Linked DNA regions of Homo sapiens: regions 1, 2, 3, 4, 5 and 6 are each linked to region 7. The links are contacts of gene promoters, found by promoter capture Hi-C in blood cells and fetal thymus (Javierre and others, 2016). All regions are on one chromosome and are shown on one strand. The core of a region is centred on a gene start or on the middle of the fragment in contact, and the rest is flanking DNA. Distances in the headings are between cores, read along the strand shown.

Region 1 (2,700 bases), core at 97-2,596, 3.3 Mb before region 7:
TCACTTTCCAGGCTTCCCCCCACCCCCTTTCCAAATCAAGGCTACCTATTCTTGTCTTCTTTCTCTTCTAATTTTTCTTTCATTGGAGAAGCTTTTTCTTGTTTCTTTTTGCTCGTTTTATAGTAAACAAGTTCCTAAAGCCCCTTTTTTTGATTTTACATATTTGGGCCGCAGTTGGCGGGCATACAACTGCTGTTGATTTATTAATCGGAACTAAGTATACGCTACTGGAACTTTAAATAACTGGAAGTTTAAAAAATGTTTAAAATATCTGAAGTTTTGTGGGATTTGTTTTGTTTCCGTTTTTCCTTACCCGTGGAAGAATTTCAGTATTCTTTATTCCTGAGAGTTCGAGATGATGTATTTGGATTTTTTTTATGACTCCTTTGAAATAAGCCACTGTAAATTTTGATTGATAAGGCATTTCTCTTGTTTGAATTGCCATTTTCATGGTTTCACAGGCACCCCAAAACAGATTTAGGAAGGAGGGTGAGATTTTGCTGTAGCAGACAGGACTGTTTGCTGCGAGTATTCTTTTTAAAACATTCAATATCTCTAATTTACAACTAAATTTAGATCTTAGATTTATTTTCATTTCTTTTGCTCTTGGTGGTTAAAGAATTGTATTTCCAGGCACATGAATTGGAGAACGTAGTACTTTCTGTTTCCCCAAAATGTGACTGCGTTTGTTCCAGTAGACTGAGAATCGGTACCTGGATTTTAGTCCTGGTGAGGTTCTTATTCTTAAGTGTTTGTTTCCTTCATGTTTAAGGAGTTGTGTGTAGCTGGATTTATACATTTTGTCAGTTAGTGTCTTCAGTGGACCCCTTTCAGTGAATATCGGGTAAGCAGCAATGTGCTACATAGGTAATGTGGTTTCTTCTTTCATGGTGTTGCTCAGGATGGTTTGAGCTTTGAGGTGTGTAGTCATATACTAAGGCAAGATATTACTGAAGGAAAATAGCTTATACAGAGAAATTTAAGTTAAAAAACTTAAATTTAAAATTTCTGTGTTTTTAAAAAATAAATTTTATTGCCGAGGGAACTAAAAAATCTAATATGTAAAAGAAATTATGTTAACTTTTTTGTTTTAAAAATTAAAGATGGTTGCGTTATTGTAAGATAAAGGAAAAAAATATTTTGATTCACTAATCATTTCCTAATATTTTCTAATGTATGTTTTAGTTTTCTTAAATATTTTATCAGTTGGAGAATGGAATGTTTTGTGGGAACGCATGGATTGTTCAACTGCAAGAAGGAAAGAACTGGAATTTTGTTTTTATTTGGTTTTTAGTGTTTATTTAATGACCTGGTATCTTTAAACAATTTATCTTCTATATTCTTCAGTTACTTGTAGATAGTTTCATGTATAGTGAATTGGGGAAGAGTTAGAGGAACTTTCGTGATCTGTGTCCTACAAAAAAATCTAAGACAGGTGAAGAAGTGAAAAGTACAATTGATTTATAGTTTTCCTGGCCTCAATACTTGAATAATTATGACGATTTTTGAGACCAGTGGTTTTAAACAATTAGACAAAGGAGAAATGCTTGGTTGGCTTTTACTTTGAGCTCTCAGTAGATTCATTCTTTATGAAGCCAATATAAAAGCATGTGATTAAATAATCCAGATGCTGAATTATTGTGCTTTTGATCAAATAAATCTGAGGATTTAAGGATAGCTTGTGAAGTAACAGTAAGTGCAAAGCAACAGTATATATCTATTTGTTAAATCTGAGGGGGAAAACAGGTTATTGAAGAAGTATGTCTCCAGAGAAAAATGTAGGTATTATGCTTCTGGGCTTTTAAAAAAAAAAATTGATGCTTCCTACAAGAGCATGACCCTGACCATGTTTTTCCAGAAAAATATTTAATTCTTGAATAGAAAGTGCTTTAGATGAGAATAGGATATACTAATTTTTTATATTTGATCTGATTATCTTAGTCCATAATAGGAAGTATATATTGGTTCTTCAGTTGTGATAACATTAAAGCCGTATTTAATGTACTTAGAATAAATAGCATATGCTCCCTTGCTTAATACTTTTTGGCAATATTTCTCATTGCTTATTATCCCTTAAAATTATTTACCAACCTTCTAAAAGGACGCTCTCCTAGTCACACTTGAAGGAAATTACAGGATAGTTGCAGTTTTACTAACTGCAAAAATAAGAGGAAAATGAGAGAAAAAATGAGAGGAAGAAATAGTTAATCCTTTGGGTTTTATAAGGAATGTACTAGGGACCTTTGGGAACGAACAATTTGTCTTGTATTTTAGCGTTTGTAAACACGTAAGGGACTTTCTTCTCAAGGAAAAAAATCCATGGACAATTCAAGACCTGTCTTTTCACCTAGGCCACATTTCTGTGATATAAAGAGAAAATTAATGGATTTGCTTCTTTCTATTTAAGTATTTTAGTACTTTCAAAGAGGGTATATAATCTGTTTATTCACTTTCACACCTATCCATTTCTCTTTAAAATGGACTCCTTGCTTAGTATTTTTTGAGTGTATTTGGATTTTTTTAACGAAGGATTATGTTAAATGTTACTTATGAAAACATTAATTTCTACTCTAAGCAAAATGTGTTTCACTGCAGTGAATTTAAGCTTCAAATAATTCTCGACACTAATAATGAATTTTTTTTCATGTTTATACTTCAGAGCTATTAAGATTTTAAAAGTAGTCAAGATCACCAGTGCGT
Region 2 (2,700 bases), core at 198-2,697, 3.2 Mb before region 7:
AATTAATCCTACTATGATTTATCTTTGGTAAAAATGGGAGACTAGAAGAAAAAAATCATGTTTCAAATAAAACTATAGCACATCTGTTTAAATTAGATTCTAGCCTCATTAATTGTTATTGTTGTTATTACTTCTCTAATATTTAGACTAAAACCTGAATTCTTTCCTGGCTACAAGTTTCCAAACTAACATTTTCAAATTTTTCTTCCATTTTTGACTTTAAGCCACTGAAAGTTGAAACTGTGCTTTTCTTAAAGCCCTACAAACTGAAACTAGACAACGTAAACTTCAGGAAAAATCAGAAGTTAAATACAAACAGCCTTCATGCCTACTGATGTATAGAATACTCAGAAAGTTCACTTCAATGCTGATTTGAACTATAATCCAGTAAAATCTGTCAGATTGCCACTGCAATCTGAAGATACCTCAAGGACTCTAAAAAACTCTATACACTACTCCAGACATTAACCTTGGTTTTTTCTTCTGTTTCCACAAAAACATCTCTTATTAAAGATCTGTTTCCCTTCATCATACACAGAGGCCTAGTGTACCTACAATGCCACCTTCTAAAATGGGACACAAATGTTTAATCCATTCTTAGGACTATGACTAAAAAAGATATGGGGCAATACATTTAAATTTACTCTTTTCTGCTTATCTAGATTTGTTTTTTCACTTCTTTGTCTATCTCTGATGACCTCTGGCCCAAATGGCTTTTAATATATAAAACTTTATGAAGTTTTAAAGTGAGGACTGAAGGAAATTAAAATATTTTACCCCAAAATATATTTATCTGACTTATTTCTCACAGGCCTCTAGATTAGGCCTATGAGACACAAAGTAAATTGATACATTGAAAAAGGCCAAAAAGAAACTTCAAAATTATTTTTCTAATAAAACGCCCTTTGAGAGAACCTTCAAAATTATGTCAGCCTCTTCTAGGCCTAAGGATGAAGACAGGAGGTTGCCTTAGAAAGGATTTTCCTATTATTTGAAGGGAAAAAATAAAATTAAGTATCATGTAACAACAAGGCTAGCAGGCAACTTAGGAAAGTGTATAACAGGACGTCATTTGAATACAGGGATCCAGGGAGGTGGATTAATTTATGTAAGTTGCCCAAGGAACTTCAGAAATGAAGGTGACAGAGAATCCAACCCATGCTGCTCAAAATCAGAAGTTGGAAAACCTGTAGGTATATATTAGGGTATCCTAAGCAAGGCTGGCTATCAAGAAAAGACACCAACGTCTTCAAAAAAGAAATTATCAAGAAGCACAGAAGAGTCATGATAGCTCAAAACTAAGACTGCAATTCTCAAACTTTAGTATACCCGACAATTGCCTGGAAACCCTGTTAAACATAAACATTTCTAAGCTTTACTCTAGAGATTCTGACTGAGTCTATCTGGGTAGGCCTTGGAATTTCTACTTTCAATGAGTTATCCTAAGTGATTTTCCCACCATGCTGAAGAGAAAAAGGAATGCTGACCGAAGGATTTGCAGGGGATTCTCAAGCACAGAAGGAAGCTTAAAGCCTCTTGTAGGAGGAATGGCTGAGCTAAATGGGTTATAACTGGGATGCTAATGACAGAAGCTGCACTGTATCCTGTGAGACTTCGACCCTGCAAGGGTATCAGCAGATTCCCATCTGTCTGCATGTGCAAGCCATCCTTCAACAGTGATACCCTGCACCAGTATGAAGCAAGAACAGTAGTGAACTAATCAGACAATTCAGTTTTTGCCTCCCTGTGGAGTTTGTAAGTAAAATTAATCACCCTGGAATGAGTAAATCCATGGAGTTCTTGGACTACTGTGAGGAGAAACATATATCAAAAGGAAAGTATAAACCTTATATAAGCAAGAATGACTTTATTTGTATCCCATGTTGATAATGATAAAGTACACTAAGAAATCCCAGGCAAATAGGTTTACTTATTAAAATTAAACATAGGCTTTCCGGCATCATCCGTCTCCTTAACTAAAAACATGGCCTATTTCTCACATTCTCGCTACTCTTATGCTGAAGACGAAAGCCATCCACTTTGCCCTTGAGGCATTCACTTTACAAAACCAAAACATACCTAGAGCTAATTTGGGGGAGGGGCCTAAAACTGTCTCAGCCAGCCCAATCCCTGGCATATAGATTGTCTCTAGCTTTCTAAAGGAATTCACACAAATTGACCTGTTACAGCTTAATTTGGAATTCTATTCACAGCAAACAGTTCAATTTCATGATTTGAAACCACAGACTTTCTGGATTTTAACCCAATCTAGTCTCTAAACTGAGATCAGGTGGGCACCACTCTATTGAGACTACAAAGATAAACAGCAGAGCAGTAAAAACTTGACCTCTGAAATCTCTTCCCTCACTACTGAGTAATGGGGCATCAGAAAGGAAGTCACAAGGGTAATGGCCCTCTTTTCCCCAAACGTTAAGGACCTACCTCTCTGGGTTTTGCCTTTTTAAGGAAGCAGGCCCACTTGGCTAATTCATTTGGAATTCAGACAAGCTGTGGCCTCTTGAATCATAAAGCACTAGAATCACAAAGTCAGATGAAAGAGGCCTCAGGCTTCAAGCCACCAACTTTAGCTCAATATTCAAGTCAACTTGGCTCTCCTGGCTGAAGACAAATTAGTCTGCCTCAAATAAAATGGATCAGGAGGAAATGAGATCATTGGAAATGTCAGACACAGCTTTCAAA
Region 3 (2,700 bases), core at 51-2,550, 4.0 Mb after region 7:
TTATTCAGCTACATATTCTGTCGAACTTTCCAATCATTATGGAAAAGTGGGGATTTTTCATATTTTGTTTTAACTACCACATGCAGCATTTCAATTTTGTTTCTCATTATTTATTTATGTTGTACATCTGAAAACTGGAATAACTCAAATGACCAGGCCCCAGAGCATGTCCCCTGAATCATATCATTGCAGCTATGGGCCCATATGATTCTACTGCCTACCAAGGGAAGCTAAAAACCACTACAATTGATATATCCTCCTCTACCAAGTTGGAAGCCCTTTACCACTTGTTGCAAATTTAAAATATGCACATAGAGGAGGAATCTAGTCACTTTCATTCATTTTAGACTTTGATAATTTTATAACTATTTTGTGAAATGTATATACACATTTGTAAATTATCAAGTTCAAATAATAATATAATGTTCAAAGGCAAATTAAGTATAGCAACACGTTACAGAACGTATCAAGTCTCCAACCACAGTTTCAAAGAAATTCTGCAGTTAAAAATAAATCAGTACCATTATCAGCAAACCTTTCCTTAGTTTGTATCAACTAAAGTACCAATTTAAAAATTATCCTACATTTTAATTGCACTATATAAACCATGTCTATAAAATAAAATGCACATCAGTTATATCTCATCTTCACACCCAACTTTGATGGCAAACACATTAAGTGTAACTATACAAGGTTATAACTCATGAATATTTAAATTAAATATTAAGAAGTAAAAACTATTTATTTTGTATATTTATTTCTTTTCCAAATGTGATACATAATAAATATTGGGAAAAAAGTTTTCAAAGAAAGTCTTTGCTGAGTGTACTAATTACCTTTAGACTTAACACTTATTCACTGAAGCTTTCAGATACTTGGAAGACAGATCATCATTATTTTAAGTAATATATTAAAATATTAGATTTGATGGTCTACATGAAAGTAATTTATTTTATAAGCATGAACTATAATATTAGATGGAAATCTGAATACTAGACTCCAGAATTATCACAACAGCTGTTATCTGCATATAAAATCAAATCATAAAAAAAGAATAAAAAGTCTTAGTTTTTAGAAAATCTAATTGTAAGGATTCTAATCAGTAACATTTTATACATATTGTGATTACAAACTATTTTTAGTTTAGAATGTCTGCAACATATTAAGTGCATCTCTATTAACAAAATAAAGAAATTATATTTTTTAAATACTTTTTATTTGGATAACAGATTTGTTAAGTAACGACTGTTTTAATAAAGAATTGCCATGGGCCGGTGCAGTGACTCATGCCTGCATAATCCCAGAACTTTGAGAGGCCAAGGCAAGAGAATGCTTGAGTCCAGGAGTGAGCTATGATCTGCCATTGCACTCCAGCATGGGTGAAAGGTTGTCTCTAAAAATAAAAATCCTGTCTCTAAAAATATAAAAGAATTGCCATAATTTTATATCACAGAAAAAATATATTTTAAAAGTTAAGAAGGGGAGAGTCTAGTAGAACAGTCAGACTAGTACATGTGTCCTGGAAAATGAACACAGAATATAGTGCATTTATAACTTAATATAAATAACCTTGGTAGCACAAAACATTATATTTTCATGGCATATTCTATATGTTTTCAAATGACATGAAAAGTCATTCAGAACAAGGAATCAGAATTCATTTGTAATTATAACTTTTTTTCTTTAAATATATTGGCTTTTTGAATTTTAGAAGGTTATATACTTCTGTTCAGAAAAAAAGCTTTTGTGAGACCTCATTTTTCAATTTTTATTTTTATTCCAACTTGGAGACTGCAAAAGCATAAGCCTGAAAAAACTAAAAGGTGGTGAGCCAGAAGATGGATATTAAACAGCCAAAATTAATAAAAACATTCACAGAAAATAATCTGCACAGAAATCACAACCTCTTAATAAAGAAATTAGCACGACAAATATTTCTTCTAGCCCAAAACATTCCTTGGTTAGCTTTCATAGAACAGATTTTGGATCTCCTAAAATTAAGCCATTAATACCTTTTTCTTAAGTGTCATAAATATTGTATTACATTAATTAAAATTTAATTCTTGACTCTACTAATTTATATTCTTCAACCACTTGCCCTCTCCCTATCCCTTTCCCCTCCCCGAAACCTCATCCTGGTATTTGGACAAAGTAGATTATGATTACACTACTGGGGAACTCCATTTGGAAAAAAAATCTACAAAAATACTAAGGGAGGAAGTATAATAAAAGTTCAGGGGTGGGAGAATGTTTCTCTGCACTACAGAAAGTTGAGGGGTGTGAGGGTTCCTCCAACAGGGCATAGTGAGAAAAAAAATATTTAAGAAATAAATTGAGAACAGGCTAGCTGAGTAAATAAATCGAAATAAAACAAACTGCAAAAAGACAATTTTTGCTTTCGTTGCATGTCAGGAAGGGTAACAGGAGGAAACAGTGGTTAAACAGAGCCATGAAGCACAAGGACTGGAAACAAGTACAGCCCTAGCTTGGCCTGACCACAGCATGCACTACGAGCTCCACAGTATATAATCCAGGACCCTATTCATTTGGCTTCAACTTCCTCATATAAAGAAGGGGGGAAAATTAAAACATTCTTCTCTATAATTTCCACACAACAGTCATAGTTATATGCCTGTAGTAATAAAAAAACAGTGTAACTGGCATTAACTGTAAATGGGTTGGAAGACATTTTAATGGGGG
Region 4 (2,700 bases), core at 155-2,654, 4.8 Mb before region 7:
GAGAAGAGGGACGGCACCATCAGGTAGAGTGGATCTCAGCTAGAATGAGGGGAAGTGGCCCAGAATCCAACCTCCTCCAAAGAGCTGTGTGACAGGCAAGTCCTATCCTTTCTGCACCTCTTTCCTTAAATGTAAGTTGAAGCATTTGGACCAGACTGTTTCAATGATCTTCTAGATTGCTTTTGCCAAAACAGAACTCTCCATTCCTGTAAGATAAGTACACAATGGCTCTCAGAGATCTAAAAACTGGCCTTGGTTACCTGCAAACTTTGAGGCCCCAAGGCACAAAAATAATAGCTTTTTTTTTTTATTTTTTTTTTTAAGGTTCATGAAAGCTTCGGACACAAAAGCTTATATGGTCTTCGTCTCTATAAATAAACCAGGGAGTAAAGAAAAACCCCGCTAGTTTCAGTAAAGCGTTGCTATTAAGCAAAGCAAACCTATGCAAATATCAAGTTCTTAATGAGGAGTGTTTCCTAAGGGGCCTGTCCTCTGGTACCCCGCCTCTCCTCTGCCACAGTCATGTGAAGGCAGACAGGCACACACTCGCACACTAGCACGCACTTGGGAGCTCAGGGAACATAACACTGGTTAGTGAGTCGGTGTCCCTCTCCCATCGATTGCAACTTTTCCCCTCCTTCCCTCTCCTGCCTCTCCCCACTTTCTACATCTCCGTTCTCAGGAAGGCTCAGGGAGGATCCCCCGCTGCGTGCACTGCGTTCTGAGAGGCCGGGGAGAGACTCTGGGCCCGCGGTCGGGGCGGAGCCAAGGTCCCAACCCACATTGAACGGGCTTGAGGATTACTTGGAGGGCTCAGGATCTAGGAGGAGGGCCCAGGGCACTGGGTTGGGGTTACTCTGGGAAAGCTCTGTGGGACCAGGTGGGACCTTAGGGCTGGAGATGGACTCTGCGAGCTGGGGGCGGAGTTCTAGACTGGCAGGAGCGGAGTTCTGGGTGGCGGGGGCGGGGTCGGGACCAGCAGGGACGGCCTCTGAGAGTTGGGGGCGGAATTCTGGGCCGGTGAGGGCTGGGGCGGGACCAGCAGGGGAGGCCTCCGCGAGCTAGGGGAGGAGCTCTGCATTGTCTGGGGCGGGGCTTCGAGTAGCGGTAGCGAGGTCTGGAGCCGCAGGCGCTGCCTCCGCGAGGTAGGGGAGGAGCTCTGTACTGTCAGGGGCGGGGCTCTGAGTAGCGAGGCCGGGTCTGAACTATCAGGCGCGGCCTCTGCGAGCTGGGGGCGGGGTTCTGCACCGGCGGGGGCGGGGTTGTGAGTGGTGGGGGCGGGGTCTGGAGCAGCAGGCGCCGCGTTTGCGAGCTAAGGTCGGAGTTCTGCACCGGCGGGGGCGGGGCTCTGCGTGGCCGGGGCGGGCTCGGGATCCGCGGGGCGACTCCCGGTCTGGCTTGGGCAGGCTGCCCGGGCCGTGGCAGGAAGCCGGAAGCAGCCGCGGCCCCAGTTCGGGAGACATGGCGGGCGTTAAAGGTACATCGCGGTCCCCGGCTCGCTTGTCGTGTGGTGGGGTTGCCACCTCCGTTCCGGTCAAGCCTGGGGCTGCGCCTTCCGCGCGCCGTTGGGGAACGGCCTCACCACCCTTCCCGCCTCTCCGGTTCGGGAGGCGATCGACCGCTCCCTTCGTCCCTTGGGGTGTGGGTGGAGCGGCGTTTCGGGGGAGCCTTGGCCCTTTTTGCAAGGCCGCTGGCCTTCCTGCTCTCCAGTGGCGGCACCAGACCCCTCCCCAGCCTGAGCCCTCGGCGAGAGCGGCGCCCTCCACCTCTCCTGAGTTTTTAAACAAGGTTTCCACTTCTTGACGCCACCCTAACGCCTTTCTTCTGGTTTTCTGCCCCTCCGCAGTTTCCTATTTGCCACAAAGGACCCTTTGTCTCCAGCGTTCTTAGCATTGGGAAACTTAATCCTCTTTTTCCTAATGATTTTTCCAACTGGGCAGAGTTGACCGCGGGCGGGTGTCAATGGAAAGCACCCAGAAAGACGGTGTTTCTCGCAGTCGTGGAGAGTAGATTACGTGTAATTTTAATACTGCTTTCTTCGGTGTTTTCTCTGTTTATGGACAGAGAAGAAACCAGTGTGTGTGTAGTATGTGTTTTTTGCATGGGGCAGTTGGTAAAAACACCGCGTCCCTTATCTGTATGGCTTCAGAGCAATGCGAGACGGAAAAGGTTTTTTGCAAGGCTTCCTGTATTTTGGTAGGAAAACATTCCATTTCTAATCTGTCGAATAGAGTAGCATGACTTGTTTTTATATTGGCTTTTATATCATCCTTGAAATTTGCACCCAAAGATATCCCCAGTTAACATCTGCTATAAACATGTAGATAGTATATATACGAGTACGCCTCTGTTCACTATGAATTTATCCGAGTATGTGAGCTGTTAGCAGCAGACATTTTATCGTTATTTCTGGCTGACTTTTATACTTAATATCAGTTTAGTAAACATGGTTTACTTGGAGAGTGTCGACTGTGTTATATATCCATTTGAAGCCAATGCCGAAAACAGATGAAAAGTAGTGTCTCAGTACTACACATGATCAGAAACTACCAAATCATGATCACGTTTATGTGTGAATGTGTTAGAAAATTGTGATGTAGTGAAAAAAAAGGAAGTCTGAAATGGAAACGGACTAAGGGAAGGAAGCATTTTACAGATTGTTCAACTTTTATTGAGGAACTACTGTATGCCAGAGACTTA
Region 5 (2,700 bases), core at 179-2,678, 3.3 Mb before region 7:
GGCTCACTGCAGCCTCAGCCTCCCTGGATGAAGCCATCCTCCTGCCTCAGCCCCCCTAGTAGCTGGGACTACGGGCATGCGCTGCCACACCCAGCTAATTCTTTTTGTATTTTTTACATGGACGGTGTTTCGCCATGTTGCCCAGGCTGGTCTCGAACTCCTGAGCTCAAGTGATCTGCCTACCTTGGCCTCCCAAAGTGCTAAGATTACAGGCGTGAGCCGTGTCCCACCTGACTTGTCTTTTCAGACCAACTTTCTTCATATTATGCTGTCAGTTTGTAGGTCTCCCACATTTACTACTTGAGATAGTCTATGCTTCTTTCTTAAGTTGCTGTTGATAAAACTCCAGAAACAAAGTATGGACAAGCTTGGGTCATGTGTCCACTCCAAATCTACGGCCAGGGAATACAGTTATTCCAATTATGTCAGCTACTATGGTCAAGGAGGTGAACTTTCAAGAAAAATAAGTGCTTGGAATGGAAGAAAGAACATTTCATGTGAGAAGACAAGTACAGAAGTAGAGAGTAGGAGAGGCTTGGAGGGGAAATAATAAATAATCCTTACATGATGCTTGTTTATGCTTGCTAAATCTTTACTTCAGTTAGCACAAAGCAGGAACACAAATACATGCTATTGCAATTTGAAACAGGATTCCTCAGCAAAATTGATTCTGATTTTTATTATAGTTGTAGCCCGGAGTTTGCTGCAAGATTTTCACTTTTACCTTAGATTAAATAAGAGACTTTTTATACTGTCGTGCTTCAACTTGTATTTTTGGTGGTGATGATTTTTTCTTTGTTGCTTACTAAGCTGATATTACTCACTTGATATTGGGTGACAGCTTGAGTTACAAGTTTAATACTAGTAAGTAAGCATTTTCTTTTCCTTTTTTTTTTTTTTTTAATATTCTTGAGACAGGGTCTCACTCTGTTGCCCAGGCTGGAGTGCAGTGACACAATCTCAGCTCACTGCAGCCCCTGCCTCCTGGGTTCAAGCAGTTCTCCTGCCTCAGCCTCCTGAGTAGCTGGGATTACATGCCCACACCACCATGCCTGGCTAACTTTTGTATTTTTAGTAGAGTTGGGGTTCCACCATGTTGGCCAGGCCGGTCTTGAACTCCTGATCTCAAGTGATCTGTCCCCCTCAGTCTCCCAAAGTACTGGGATTACAGGTGTGAGCCACTGCACCCAGCATAAGTAAGCATTTTCTTGATTGAATAAGTAAGGGTATTTTTTTTCCATGTGATAAAGCCCATCTAAAAATAACGTTGTGTAAAAATAAACTATTAGAAGGTATATGAAAGTGTAGTTGGGTACAAGGAATATATGGAACCAGGGATTCAGCATCACCAGGACCTCCATCTCTCCTAATCCCTGGTTGAATCCTGTTGCATCTCTTCAATTTTTTCTTTTCCACAACCACTAATTTAATTTAGGTTCTGATCATAATACAGGTGAATGTGTAGTGAATGATAGCAGTGGATTCCCACATGGCAAGCAAACTAAATCTTCCCCTGCCTAAGTTCACGTTGAGTGTTTTGTTGTGTGTGTAATTTCCCCTAAATACTTCCAGAGTGTCAGTAACTATTCAGTACGCTCAAATTGAGTCAGGAGTATAACAGAAGCCTTTAAAAATTACGTAAAACTAGAGAAAGTAGGTAAAAATAGTAATCCTGACTTTCATTAATCTATAACTGATCTTTCAGTAATGTATGGCCTTCTGAAATGATACTTTGTTTTTAGTTACTGTAAATGGTATGTCTGCTCTAATCAGGGTGACTGGCTTATTCATTTTTGTTTCTGTACCATACATTTGTCATTTGCTCTGACTTGAATGACTTTTCTCCATCTGTGCCAGTTCTATTACGATTGTAATTCAAGCATTTCCCCTCTAAATGCACTGTGATCAGGCTACTTTTGACTCTCTCTGTTCTCTGCTTAGTCAATATTGGAGGTGTTGGAGAATTTTTCTTTGAGAAATGAATTTTTTTCTTTTTCCTTTTTTTTTTTTCTTGAGACAGAGTCTCAACTCTGTCACCCAGGCTGGAGTGCAGTGGCATGATCTCAGCTCACTGCAACCTCTGCTTCCTGCGTTCAAGCAATTCTCCTGCCTCAGCCTCCTCAGTAGCTGGGACTACAGGTGTGCACCACCATGCCTGGCTAATTGTTTTGTAATTTTAGTGGAGATGGGGTTTTGCCTTGTTGGCCAGGCTGGTCTCGAACTCCTGACCTCAAGTGTTCTGCCAGCCTCAGCCTCCCAAAGTGCTGGGATTACAGGCGTGAGCCACTGCGCTTGGCCTGAGAAATGAATTTTTACAAAGTGAGTCACACTTCTTATCTGTATATCCAGGAGGGAAAAACCTTAATCTATGATTGTCAGACATTCTACATTCTTGATAATGGTTAAAAAAGAAAAATTCTTTTTCCATGTAGTTAGTATGTCACCTATCCTTTTGACAAATATTTGAGCTGGATATCATATGTCATACGATAAGCTTTATTAAAGTTAATGTTCAAGCTTTATTACCTCCCATTGGAAAGGGTGATTTGCAGGTATCTTATCCCAGACCTGTGAGATCAGTGGTTTTCAAGGTAGTCTCATACCAGCAGCATTAGCATCACCTGAGTTTTTTTTTTTTTTTTTTTTTTTTTTTTAATTGCAGGTACTCGGGCCTCACTGGAGACTTACTAGGTCAGAAAG
Region 6 (2,700 bases), core at 186-2,685, 4.5 Mb after region 7:
AGGGAGAGTGATGTGTGACAGGGTAATGATTGACAGCCCCACCAGAAATCAAATGGTGTGAAGGCAGGACGATGTTGCCCGGGGATGCTGGGCAGACAGAAATAATAACTGTCTTGTATAAATTCTAGCTCAGACACAATATTACATGTTTCACTAGGTGGTCAGACTACGCCGCAGGATACACTGTAACATGGGTGCAGCCAAGGTTAAAAGGCAGGCAAGTGCTACCTAGGGAAGAGACTAGTACCTGACTCAAGGTCACTAACAAAAAACACGCATACTAGGCTCAAGTGTTGTAACATTTGCTTATAGCAGGAGGGAAGAGACTACACAAGATCTAGCCCTTTGCAATGTGTCAGTCCCCATGGCTAGCAGATTGGTTCCACAGCTGATCAGGGCAGAGTGATGGCATGTACCCCACTTTGTGCTGCAGTAGCTCCCAGACCCTGAACACTGCCCCATAGGGTCTGAAATACAGAAAGCTAGGAACGTGCTCAGGGGCCATTGGTTCTCATGTAGCTGAGCAGTTCCAAGGTTCCTCTCCCAAAGTTAGGAGATAGCAAAAACAAACAAGTGAACAGGGAAAAAAAAACAAACAAAAAAACTGCAAGTTGCAATTGTTACAACAACTGTGCCTGTTACAGAGGGAACAGGAACTCACTGGCTGTGCTCTGAGCTCTTTGCATGCACTGCTATTTGTGAGCTTACTAGTGCTGCTGGTAAGCACTGGTGCTTGGTACAGGATGCTTCTTGGGAACATGGGTGGCAGTTAGGCTTTGTTTGGACCCTTCTCTCACATTACATTTGTCTCTATCTCAATCTAACAAAAAATTTAAACAATCCTAATACAGTTTTTGTATACTACATTTCCTAATGAAAAATCCGTTATGGAATTAAATAAAGTAGTAGTTTACTTCTTCAAAGCACACTAATAGGTGGAAAGAATGGTATAGAAGATTTACGGGAGAACTAGAAATTTTAAGAAAATAAGCAAATAAATTTTTGGTGAAAAAGGACCAAGAAAGCAGAGGGAAAAGTTACTGCAGAAAAAATATGCTGAGTGATTCTGAAAATTTCTAAGAGAAATTGAAGTTATGTATGGGGTAAAGGGTCGCCAAAGGACAGGCCATATACTTGCATCTGATACCACTGTTCATTTATTTAGATTGTAGCTCTGAAGAAAGCAAATGGTGATGCCACTTTGAAATTTGAACCATTTGTTCTTCATGTGCAGTGTCGACAATTGCAGGATGCACAGATTCTGGTAAAATTTTGTTGTAATTGTACTTGAATTTATAGATATGTGGGTAGATGTAATTTTAAGCTTTTAACCTGCTATAAATATCAATGAGATATTACCTTATTCAACTAGTTATGTATATATTATTTATTGGTCTGCTCAATCTATTAATTTTTAATATTAGAAAAAAAGAGTAGCTAATCATTGCTAGGAAAATATAAGTCCCAGGTTATGCTTCCTGTTTTCTTTCTTAACGTTTTTATTTATAAATTTTACTTCAGCATTCTATAGTTTGTTTTTGTTTGCCAAGCTTTAAGAAAAAATACTGTGGAACTACATGTAAAATTAAGAGTTTTAAAGAATATTTCATTTTTCCCATTTAAATGAGCATGCATGAGGTAAACATCTGTTTAGTCTTGATTCTCCTTTTTATACCTTTTATATATTTATATATAAAACTGAATTGCATTTTAAGCAACAATAATGTATTGAGTCTCAGTGTGTCAAGTACTAGGGGCACAGTGATGAACAAGATTAAAGACTGTCTTGGTTCCTCTTCCAAAGTTAGGAGACAGCAAAAACAAACAAGTGAACTGGCAAAAAAACAAAAAACAAACTGCAAGTTGCAAAATGTTCTACCGAAGGAAAAAACAACCTGGTAATAGAGAACAGTGCAAAAAGCAGCTCACTTGAAGATAGGCTTCTCTGAAAAGCTTTCTTTAAGCTAAGACTTAAAGGAACAGAAAGAGCTAGGCATGTAGCTGGGAAATGAACATTCCATGAAGATGGAAAAGTATATACAAAGTTTCAGTGGGTCTAGAGAGTGGAAAGAAGGTGCCAGAAGGAGGCTGGGGCCAGGTCATTTAAGGCTTTGTAGACCAGATTAAAGAGTTTGAATTTCTTTCTGAGTTCAGGGAAAAGTTATTGAAGGGACAGTTTTAAGCAAAGAGTGGCTTTCTAGGTTTTTGTTCTGAAAAACTCAGTTCTGCTTCAGCATAGAGAAAGGAGTGCAGTAAGTGAAAAGATACGAGTTAGGAGTAGTTTGTGGTGATAGGTTGGTGTAAGGTGATAGCACCAAAGCAGGTGAGAAAGGAATAGATTCAATATGTATTTCAGCATTTGAATCAACAGAATTGTAAGGTTGTCTGGGGAAGGACAGCCAGAGGGAGGAGGAGAAAGAGGAATCAAGGATAACTACTTAGGTCTGGCTGGAGCCCCTAGCTGTATGGTAGTCGCCTTTATCCAGATGGGGTGTGCTGAAGTTGAAGTGTGTCCAGAATTGGTTCCTTCCAGTGGGTTATTGGTCTCGCTGACTTCAAGAATGAAGCCGTGGACCCTCGCAGTGAGTGTGACAGTTCTTAAAGATGGTATGTCCGGAGTTTGTTCCTTCAGATGTTCAGATGTGTCCGGAGTTTCTTCCTTCCAGTGGGTTCGTGGTCTTGCTGACTTCAGGAGTGAAG
Region 7 (2,700 bases), core at 39-2,538:
ATGATATTAACCTTTTGGTTGGAGGGCAGAGAAAACAAAAAACATAAATGATATAAATTCTGATAGTGATAAATGCTGTTAAAAAATTAAACAGGTAAGAGAACAGAATGTTAGCATGATAGGTATGCAAGTTTAGAGAAAAATGTTTCAGGTTTTGGGGAAACCAAGTAGATATATATATATGCACAACTGTAGTTTGAAAATGAGTATGTTCCCATTGATCAAAAACTCTTTTAGGTGGAGTAAGGATTCTGTGTCTTTTCATTCATTCAGAAGCATTTGCTTGCCTAATCTACTTTATACATGTCACAATAAGAAAGCAATCATTAGAAGGAAAATGGAAGGTTTTAATCAGTCTTAAAACCTAAATATAAATGAAGAAAAACATTACAGGAAAAATGCTCTATTTCTCCATCTCTCCATTCCCCTCCCTCTCTCTCTTACACACACACACACACACACACACACACGACAATCAGAAGAGCATCTGGCCATTCATTCATGGTACCCAGATTTGTGCTTCTTGGTCTTTAACAGGTTTCTCAGGATGTCCCCACATTCAAACACTCTGTGTGGCATCTATCCTGATCTTCAACTTAGAAAATATACTCATTATTCCTTGTAAGTAGAACTCTGCACAGCTGCATACAGAAGAGCGTCTCGGCAGGGAACAGTGCAGGTTCACAAAGGGGCCGATAAAACATATAATTTTAGCTTTGGTAATTGCCCTTGAAGATTACAATAAGAGGAGGAAAATAAGGGCCAAAGAAACAAAAGATTTGCCCGTGATTTGATAGCTGGTTTCGTCACATATTATGTTGCTTATCCCACAGAATGTGGGAATCCCAGAAAGCGCCCCGTTTAAATTTAGACCGTATTTTTAGCAGGGTCCCTTTAACAGAGATTGCGGGAACCTGGGAAGGAACTGAACTGGGCTAACCAAACCGGTCGAAATGAGCACAGGGATTAGATTAGAGCACAGAAATTCTGGCTAGCAGTCTGAGAAAGGGGGCCAAAGCCAGCCCAGAGAAAAGGGAGGTTGCCTGGGCCAAAGGCTTTCTGACAGGAGACACAATAGGGTCGTACCTCTGGGTCTTACCTTCACTGAGGTTTCTACCCGACAGGTTTAACTGGCCGCTCTTCCTCGCTGCCTTCAACAGCCCTTGGGGTACCGAGGTACCGCAGTCTCTTCCACCTGCTTTGAAACCAGCGCGGAGATCCTGCCCCGCTATCCGCTTCAGGCGCGACATGTTCAAAGTCCTAGGTCCAGAAGCTGCAGCCCCACCCGTGACGCTTAAAGGTGGCGCCGTTGGGATGCCCCGCTCCTTTCGTGAGCGCGCGCTCTGGGCGCTGGGCTCGCGGCCTCGCGCTGGGCCTTCACTCTCTGCGGCGCAGTCCAGATGTCGTCAGCACCAGCGCCTGGGCTGGAGGACAGAGAAGCCTTTTCCGTTGCCGGTGCCGGCCTAGCGTCCTGGAATTACTTCAATCAAGTAAGTGCGTTTAACGGGCTTAAGAGGGGCTTTCGGGTTTATTGTTTGCACTGTTACTGCGACTCCAACCTTCTCCTCTGTGCTTCCACCGTGGCGAGGGTGTGGGGAAAGAGAACCCTCTCTTCTCCCCTCTCCTAGTCTGAACGTGGGCCTTGACTAAAACTTGAGATCTGGGCGCGGTCGGCAGCGTTTCTGGACCCCAGCCTGTGTTTGTCGCTTGTGGTGGTGGCGCCAGACCTCTGGCGTACGGAGTAAAAGAAATTTTCTGTTCTTAAGGCTTGTACTCTGACACCATTCTCGTTGTATTGAGGGTATATAGCTTACCCAGCAAAGGAGGTAATGTGAAATGGAAGGACTGGCAACATAGAAGACAAAAACAAAAATCCTTAAAATTTAATAAATGTTCTGTGTATCAGACAGTTTAGGGAGACAAGTAGTGGTACATGCTTTAGTGAAGCTCAGACAGCTTGGATTTTTGAGCCCTAAAAAGCAAGTTCAAATCTCAGCTGCTTCTTTACTTTAGAAACTGTTAACTTTAGGCAGTTTACTCAACCGCTTTTAAAGCTCATTCCTTTTTTTCATTACTTTGGGGATAATTCCTACCGCATAAGGTTTTTGAAATAAGTGAAGATAAAAACTAGAATCTTGAGCTCTCGGTGAGTCCAGAATAATAGCAAATGAAAATTTTGTTCAATGTAAGTCGGTGTTTCCTAGGAAATTAAAATTTTCATCTGAAATGTACAACTTCTTGATTCAACAAGTAATTATTAAGATTAATCCTGCCTAGTATGTGTACTATCCTGGGTGCTAGACTTTTCTTTTGCCTGAAATGATTTTGTTTTAAAAGCATATGCCAGGGAATACCATTCTAACCCCCATCAAGTCTACTGAGGATTGGTAGAATAGTTGAAAGCTAGGATGAAGGCCCTTTGATCAATTCTTCATCACGCACTTTTACCTGAGTCCAGGTTATTGCTACCTGTAAAATTCGGTTTTTAACTCTACCCTTTTTGTTCTTATTTCTGTGGAGTCCTTTACACTAATATCGAACAAGAGAAAGTTACCAATAGTTGTTACCCTACTAAAAAAGCAAAGAGTGGATTTTTGTCTTTTTTTTTTTTTTTTTTTTGAGACAAAGTCTGGTCTGTCGCCTAGGCTGGAATGCAGTGGCGTGATCCCGGCTCACTGCAACCTCCGCCTCCCAGGTTCA

The links. The method cuts DNA at HindIII sites, captures the fragments that hold promoters and counts their contacts. A CHiCAGO score of 5 or more calls a contact.
Region 1: a contact is called between a fragment that was not itself captured here and the fragment with the promoter of LRRC40 in region 7, in 2 of 17 cell types (naive B cells and total B cells). The highest score is 7.7, in naive B cells.
Region 2: a fragment that was not itself captured here is called in contact with the fragment with the promoter of LRRC40 in region 7 in 1 of 17 cell types (total CD8 T cells); the score reaches 5.3 in total CD8 T cells.
Region 3: a fragment that was not itself captured here is called in contact with the fragment with the promoter of LRRC40 in region 7 in 1 of 17 cell types (non-activated CD4 T cells); the score reaches 5.2 in non-activated CD4 T cells.
Region 4: a contact is called between the fragment with the promoter of LEPR here and the fragment with the promoter of LRRC40 in region 7, in 1 of 17 cell types (total CD4 T cells). The highest score is 6.1, in total CD4 T cells.
Region 5: a contact is called between a fragment that was not itself captured here and the fragment with the promoter of LRRC40 in region 7, in 2 of 17 cell types (monocytes and total CD8 T cells). The highest score is 5.7, in monocytes.
Region 6: a fragment that was not itself captured here is called in contact with the fragment with the promoter of LRRC40 in region 7 in 4 of 17 cell types (non-activated CD4 T cells, total B cells, naive CD8 T cells and 1 more); the score reaches 8.3 in non-activated CD4 T cells.

What each region holds. Positions count from the first base shown.
Region 1 is chr1:66,931,044-66,933,743 of GRCh38, forward strand. The region is part of intron 2 of MIER1 (MIER1 transcriptional regulator); the gene reads left to right. Among named protein-coding and RNA genes, the nearest start is that of MIER1, 7.4 kb to the left of the region's middle. The HindIII fragment of the contact is 2,514 bases long and covers 90-2,603 here.
Region 2 is chr1:67,017,226-67,019,925 of GRCh38, forward strand. All of the region lies in intron 10 of SLC35D1 (solute carrier family 35 member D1), which reads right to left. Among named protein-coding and RNA genes, the nearest start is that of SLC35D1, 36 kb to the right of the region's middle. The HindIII fragment of the contact is 152 bases long and covers 1,372-1,523 here.
Region 3 is chr1:74,192,815-74,195,514 of GRCh38, forward strand. The region is part of intron 1 of LRRIQ3 (leucine rich repeats and IQ motif containing 3); the gene reads right to left. Among named protein-coding and RNA genes, the nearest start is that of LRRIQ3, 4.0 kb to the right of the region's middle. The HindIII fragment of the contact is 877 bases long and covers 863-1,739 here.
Region 4 is chr1:65,419,264-65,421,963 of GRCh38, forward strand. LEPR (leptin receptor) reads left to right here and starts at 1,405. Exons shown (of 20, transcript NM_002303.6): 1 at 1,405-1,477. LEPROT (leptin receptor overlapping transcript) reads left to right here and starts at 1,405. Exons shown (of 4, transcript NM_017526.5): 1 at 1,405-1,477. The coding sequence starts at 1,462. RefSeq lists enhancers at 719-1,251, 1,252-1,785, 1,859-1,908 and silencers at 899-968, 989-1,488. The HindIII fragment of the contact is 9,332 bases long and covers 349-2,700 here.
Region 5 is chr1:66,952,711-66,955,410 of GRCh38, forward strand. All of the region lies in intron 4 of MIER1 (MIER1 transcriptional regulator), which reads left to right. Among named protein-coding and RNA genes, the nearest start is that of MIER1, 29 kb to the left of the region's middle. The HindIII fragment of the contact is 2,127 bases long and covers 366-2,492 here.
Region 6 is chr1:74,737,525-74,740,224 of GRCh38, forward strand. TYW3 (tRNA-yW synthesizing protein 3 homolog) reads left to right here. Exons shown (of 6, transcript NM_138467.3): 3 at 1,166-1,264. Among named protein-coding and RNA genes, the nearest start is that of TYW3, 5.7 kb to the left of the region's middle. The HindIII fragment of the contact is 226 bases long and covers 1,323-1,548 here.
Region 7 is chr1:70,204,291-70,206,990 of GRCh38, forward strand. LRRC40 (leucine rich repeat containing 40) reads right to left here and starts at 1,289. Exons shown (of 15, transcript NM_017768.5): 1 at 1,100-1,289. The coding sequence starts at 1,250. It also overlaps a transcript of SRSF11 not described here. RefSeq lists enhancers at 883-942, 1,203-1,512. The HindIII fragment of the contact is 8,465 bases long and covers 1-2,700 here.